2 separate regions of the Homo sapiens genome follow, and region 1 is linked to region 2. Evidence: promoter capture Hi-C in 16 types of primary human blood cells and fetal thymus (Javierre and others, 2016). All regions are on one chromosome and are shown on one strand. The core of a region is centred on a gene start or on the middle of the fragment in contact, and the rest is flanking DNA. Distances in the headings are between cores, read along the strand shown. Region 1 overlaps COL1A2 (collagen type I alpha 2 chain). Region 2 holds the start of VPS50 (VPS50 subunit of EARP/GARPII complex).

Region 1 (3,474 bases), core at 630-3,129, 1.2 Mb after region 2:
TAACCCTCTTTCTAAAATAGACTCATAAGTGAATTTCAATCAATGACAAATATAGTATATTAAATTTCCACCCTACTTGCACATAGAAAGGTCTGAACAACTGATCTTACCACATATAATTCTTAGGTTTCTACAGGGCCTGTCTAACCTGACCTTACTCACTTTTTACATAACAGGGTCCACCAGGCCCCCCAGGCAGAGATGGTGAAGATGGTCCCACAGGCCCTCCTGGTCCACCTGGTCCTCCTGGCCCCCCTGGTCTCGGTGGGGTAAGGTGTCTTACGTATTGCTAACTTTTAGCTAACTTCAGTTGAAAGAAGGTTTATTGTGGAATTTATTTTTAGCAGTTAAGGGATAATTCTTCCATTTGAAAATTAGTATATTTTATTTCATTTATTTGGTTTTTTCACTCAAGATTCTGCTTTACCCATTCTCTTTGTGAGCCCTTGTCAATTACAGGACTGGTCTTTGTGTGCACTGAAGTTAGCTGTGGCCATCATTACCATTATTTAATTTGGAGATTTAATATCTTTTATTAGTAAGGCACAAATAAGAGGTGTTGCATTATTAAGGATTTTGATTAGATTGAACTGTGTAAGTGAAATCCCTGATCTTAAGCAATTTTACAAACATCCTACGCTTTTTATTCTCCTTGACTTGAAGTCTGCTGAACCAACATTCAAAGCGGTTTTAGGTTTAATTTGCTTGAAACTAATTTGAGAAAAGTACATTTCCCTTTTTCATTAATATCTTCTTTTAGCTTCATGTCTTTAACAATGGTATGAGTGCCAAATGACCTCACTGCAGGAAGGAAAACATATTTGCTTAATTGGTTAGCACTATGAATCAGAAGCCTGATTCTAATACCCAACTGTATGTCAGTAAAATAAGACCTTTCTCCCCCAAAGATCTTATTATGATTGCTTATCTATGAATTGCATTAAAAAGCAGCTTCTTTAATAGAGCTACCACTATAAGAGAGATCTTTAACAGTAAAGTTATTACTGTGAACTAGTTTTTAGAAGTTTTATCTTCCAAGGGGTATTTTAATTTAATTTTCCTCTAAACTTGAAAACTCTTTATGCCCTTCCTGAAACTCCAGCAAGAAAAAGATCTCTTAGTCATTTTGTGTAGCTCCGGTGGGGAAGGGCAACAGGTGAAAATGTGAAGATGTCCTCTTGAGCTCTGTCTAATTTGTCAGGAGCCCTTAGTAACATTAAAAGTTTAGAAAGCTTCCCTTCCTCAGAGTAGAGGTAAAAGGTGGGAGTGGAGACACCGAGTTAAGGCAGAGGAAGGGCTCAAAAAGTAAAGTAGGGAAGTTCTCCATTTCAAAGAGGTGTCGGCCAAGTTTTTGACGTACAGCTCTCATAACTTTTTAGGAATTTAGTTCAATATAGAATTTTAAACTAATAATTATATCAAAAACATTGCCCTCTTTTAAATAACAACAGAAAAATATTTACAAGTAGAATGAGAAAATGAACTACATGACTAGTAACTAAAAATATTTTATATATATATATAATTTTTTTTTTTTACTTCTCTAGAACTTTGCTGCTCAGTATGATGGAAAAGGAGTTGGACTTGGCCCTGGACCAATGGTATGCTTATCTGTTTATCTTAGCCAAAAAAATTGCTAAATAAATCATTCATTTTATGTCACATTTTACCACGCCATTTATTTAGCTACCTAAGTTAACACTCAATACTTAGATTATATAAAAACAACTCTTTTTGTTTTCAAATTTATGAAAACATAAGTTAAGGAGTTCACTTTTCTTTACAAAAGAAAGATTAATTGATCTTTTATGATTATATGATCTTTTTGATTATATGATCCTCATTAAGATAGATCATATACTTATGTCCAAGAAATAATCTTTGGACATAGTAACCATAACTTGGGCAAATCAATTTAATTTAAAACAGTAATCACTCTGATTAATTTTTTAATATTCTTTAACATTGCTTAGAATTTTAAGCAACACTTAGAGGCATAGAACTATTTATTAAGTTCTCTGAACTTGTTGGAAAGGATCAACAAGTTCTATCTAGTCCAGCTAACTCATTTTAAAATGGGAGAGTTTAAGCCCTTTTCTCAAAGTCATCCAGGTAACTAATGACATAACTAGAACTAGATGCCAGGCAAGATGTCTAATATTTGCTTACATCATGGTTTATGTACCTAGTCCTTGAATAAACCACTCATTTAGTCAACAGATATTAATCAGATGCCTTCAATGGGCCCTAAACTGTATTAGGAACTGGGGAAATTACAAGGAATATGACAGATTCTGATCCTTCCTCAAGGAGTTAACAATATAGGAAATGTTTCTTTTTCTGAATTTTGACCAAAAAAATCCTTTTTTAGTCTATTGATTGTAAATCTATATAGAAGAGAGTATGAGTAAAAATCTAGCATTTATGTCACTCAGTACAAATATTCAGCACCATACCCTATCAGTGGAGCACCGCTTAGAAACATTCCCTATATGATGATGATGATGATGATGACTATTAACAAATGAAGCTTCTAACAAGCATTAGAGAGAAGTTTGAAGGGAAAAATGCTAATACGAGCATGCAAAATGTATACTAGCATATATGAAATAGAGGGGAAAACTGCCAGAAGTCAAAGTGTTAGGTTGATTAAGCACTACAGAATTTAATGTATACACACACACGCAATTTAGTGATTTTAATTAATTGTTTCAAAACAAAGGTATTTATCTGCCCAAAGTCAACAAGGTCTTTAAAATGTAAATTTTACCTGGGCAGTGCACTTAGTGCTCTATCTTCAAAAGAAGATGTTCTGCTGGAGCTAATGGCCCACAGTAAGCTAATATACTCTAAGGGTGAGATAATATTTTCTGTAAATTAAAACTCCCACTTGAGAAATAATGTACCTTTAATTGACGACTTCTAATTCCCTAATTTTTTCTGGTAGTTTAAAATGTTCATATCTGAAATGAAAAAGTAGAGTGTTTCTTTTGGCTTTGTTTATATTGGATTTTTGAAATTAGCTGTTTCAGCTAATGCTGGACATTAGTCAGTTTTAAAGCAGTACCTACATCTCAAGAAGAAGCAAGGGGGCGGAAAGTAAAGAGCTACTAAATGTCATTTTTAAAAAGCCCACTAAGCTGGGAAAATTAATATGGATTTCAGATACCCCTGTTTTCGGAACATCTGTCTTGGCATAAAGCAGAGTATTTTACTTTGAAATATCAGTGAAATATAATTTAAGCTTGCACATCCACACACATGCACAGACATATGTAATCAACAGATATCTGTTTCACAAATAGGGAAGATAGGCAGCAATAAAGTATTAAAATAATTTCCATGTTGGAAAATCAATAACTATAAAACCCCACAGGGTTCTTCTCTGAATTAATGAGTAATCACAGCCTCCATGAAATACACTACATTTTATGTAAATGAAATTGTTGCAAATACATGAAAAAATAAATATAA
Region 2 (3,324 bases), core at 426-2,925:
ATTTTCACACACAAAGAACAGTCTGACAATTAAGATTAGAGAAGGTAAAGAATAAACTAAACTAGACTTGCCCTAAATGTGACCAGAATTTCTTGAAGGGGTTAGAAATAACAGAGTCAGAGAAGCATATAGGTAAACATATAATTTCAAAGGAATTGCTGAACGCAGTGATGATACAAGTATGCACAAGGTGGTTCTGTTGGAGTAGAGAACTGGGCAGAATCAAAACCAATAATACCTCATAATTGTATAGTGCTTTACAATTTATACATTTCATTCACCTACATCATCTCACTTATCCTTACAAAGCCCTATATAAAATATTAAAATATTACAACCTCATTTGTAAAAATTAATAAAACGAGGCTCTAAGGGGTGAGAAAATAGAATTTCAGAATCAGAAATAACCTCTGTTAGTGTCCCCCAAACTTCAGTCATTTGCAAATCACCTTTATTAGTTTTGCCATATCTGACTACCACCCATACTATTGTTTACCTAGTATTTTTTATTACGTTGACACACTTGAACTTTTTTTATTCTAAGAAATATTTTTGAAATTATGGGTCTGTGTCATACTTTTAGAAGTTAACATTATAATAAAATAAACTTAAAAAAATTGGTGCCATGCTTTAGAACTTTCTTCAGCACAATACATGAAAATCTTAACACATCTGATGACCGATTAATCCTTCAGTTTCTACTTGCACATCTGCAGTAATCTTAGGCAAGTTCCTTAATTTCGCCATACCTGCTTCGTCATCTTTAAAATGGGAACCCACAGGATTCTTGTGTGGATAAATGAAATCATATATTTAAAGCTATTAGCAGTTCCTGACAGGTACTCGGCTTTCGATAAGTGTTAGCTATCATTGTTAGCTTTAGGGCTGCTTTTTCTTCTTCTTCTCATATTCTCATAATTGTAAAGTCCTTTTAAAATTGTGTCCCCAAAGACACTTCTGTTCCTTTCCCCAATTTAACTAAACTGCCAAAAGTTGAAAAGAGGACTTTAAAGTGACAGGTATACTCGTTATTGTCGTATTTCCCGTCATCACTGCTTTAGAGTACGGAGGTAAAATAATAGGCGGGCGTCAAAATCCTTCGATTTTAGAGCTTTTGCAGGGGATACCAAGACTGAGGTAGAACAGCCCTAAACCTGGAGGGCCGCCTATTGGGCAACCTAGAGCACACCTTTCCTCAGGCCAAACCCAGCGCGCCCGGGGTAGTCTCGAGTTCTCAGGTTACCCCTCAGTGACAGCCCTTTCTTGAGTTCCTTCTCCTTCGCGTCAGTCTCTCGTTCTCCCACCCCGCCCCTCTAGACCAGGTGAGGTTTCCTCCCTCACACTCCTAGGGGACATCGCGTCAATCTGGCTTATATATTGTCTCCTCTGAGTTTGATCTTTCGCTCAACGCCTAGTCACCTGTGACTTAGGTTTCCGTCTCGCCGAAGAGTAGCTACTGCCTAGTGCAAGCACCTTTGTAAGACCGGCGATCGCAGTGGTCGCTCTGAGCAGTAATATTTACCGGCTTAACTGAAGCACCCGCTCTTTTGCTTGCTGGGAGATGTAGTCCCTGGGTTGGCCACTTTAGTTCATCGTTGCTACCGCCGGCGTCCAGAAGACTACAGTTCCCAGCAGGCCCAGGGAAAGACAGGATACCCTGGGTCGGCTCCTCCACGTGACCACCCACTATGGCTTCCTAGTGTCAGGGCCAGCTGTGTAGTGGCTCGGTGTGATTTGTTAGCTCTTTGAGGCAGGGTACCCTCCTCAGGATTTCGATATGCAAAAAATCAAATCTCTCATGACCCGACAGGTAAGTCGCGGCGGCTGAAGCAAAGGCTTCCTTCATCTCGGAAGTGAGAGGAGCCGAGATGTTCTGTCCCCAACCAGTGGCGGGCGGGGATCTAAGTTATGGGTGGTGGCAGGTGTCAGGGGGACTGGGAAGCCGGGGCATACCCTAGAAAACTCACCTGGGCCGCCTGGGTTGGAGCACTGCTCCAGCGGGTACCAGCCTCCCAGAAATATTCGTTTAAAAATAAGTCATTGAAGGAATCAGGGTATCTTTGTCTCCCCTCCTCCTCTTTTTGCCGTCTTTCCAGAACAGCCCGAGCTTCCTTGCAAGGTCTTCCGCATCCAGGCTGTCTGTCATATGCGAGCTGATAGCCTGGGTAGGGTGGTGTGGTCTGTGCAGTAGAGGTGACCTGGAAAGACTGAAAACGGATGATTTGAAGACAGAATTAGTAGCTTTTGGATTTTGGGCAAGTCCCCAAACTTTGTAGCTTACGTTTCTGGATGTGAAAATAATTATTTTTGTTCATTTTACTTCACAGTTCTGTTATGAGGGTCATCGATAAGCTAATATATGTGAAAACTCTTTGTGAAATTCTGCTTTAAAAAATTTATTTTTGTCATGGCAAAATACTGATCTTTTCTTTTTTTTCCCCAGAATGGAAATTCATGAATAAGAGCTTTGGCTATTTTGTAACCTGTCTCATAAATGTTAGGGACCTCGTAATAATGCCTCAGCTTCATTTAAGAAGTGCAGAAATTTTCTTTTATGTACTTATTGATTATGACTTTGTTTTAGCTGCCTTTATTTACTTCAGCTTTAATATTTCACTAGAATTGGTCATTTTATTATTTTAATATGAAAGATAGTTAAGATTAGAGTTTTAAATCAACATGGCTTTTAGAAGTTTGGAGAATGTGGAAGGTAATCGTTTAGTGAAAGGTATATTTGTGAGTTTTTTTCTTGTTGATTACAAAAATAACTCAAATTCCACATTCTTATTTGAGAATTCACAATTTGAGAGATATATAAACAGGATACAAATTGTGTATTTCTCTTGCACAATGCACAAATGACCCTTACATGATTATTTTAGTTATGTCAGAGCATTTTGTTAATGTTATGAAAATATAATCAAAATGTTCTGTGAATAATAAAAATATTTAAGTAAGTGGCTAGTAACATTTGTTAATTCCTCACATGTGTTGAGTACTGGTGTTGTGCGTCCTACTACTTCTTACTTGACGATGAGTTTGGGTCCTGCTGTATCCTGTGGCAGCTGTGTGACTTTCGGCAAGTTACATAACGTTTTTAAGCATCTATTTCCACATCTTTAAAATAGGAATAATGTGTGCCTTATGGAGTTAGCCTGATAGTGGTGTTTACATGATATAATGAAGTTAAAGAGTTTAAGGCGTTAACGGAGTTCCTGGGCATTATCAAGGAAGTGCTTGAACGCAGAGACCGTTAGTTACATTGGCTATGTTGATGGTGGGAAAGCAGGAAAATTGGAAGCAGGCTGTTGCAGTAATTCAAGC

The links. The method cuts DNA at HindIII sites, captures the fragments that hold promoters and counts their contacts. A CHiCAGO score of 5 or more calls a contact.
Region 1: a contact is called between a fragment that was not itself captured here and the fragment with the promoter of VPS50 in region 2, in 1 of 17 cell types (naive B cells). The highest score is 5.1, in naive B cells.

The regions. Positions count from the first base shown.
Region 1 is chr7:94,400,020-94,403,493 of GRCh38, forward strand. It overlaps COL1A2 (collagen type I alpha 2 chain), which reads left to right. Exons shown (of 52, transcript NM_000089.4): 5 at 177-269; 6 at 1,548-1,601. Among named protein-coding and RNA genes, the nearest start is that of COL1A2, 6.9 kb to the left of the region's middle. The HindIII fragment of the contact is 1,298 bases long and covers 1,231-2,528 here.
Region 2 is chr7:93,230,691-93,234,014 of GRCh38, forward strand. It overlaps VPS50 (VPS50 subunit of EARP/GARPII complex), which reads left to right and starts at 1,676. Exons shown (of 28, transcript NM_017667.4): 1 at 1,676-1,810. The coding sequence starts at 1,778. It also overlaps a transcript of HEPACAM2 not described here. RefSeq lists enhancers at 1,377-1,446, 1,587-1,756, 1,847-1,896, 2,137-2,196. The HindIII fragment of the contact is 4,774 bases long and covers 1-3,324 here.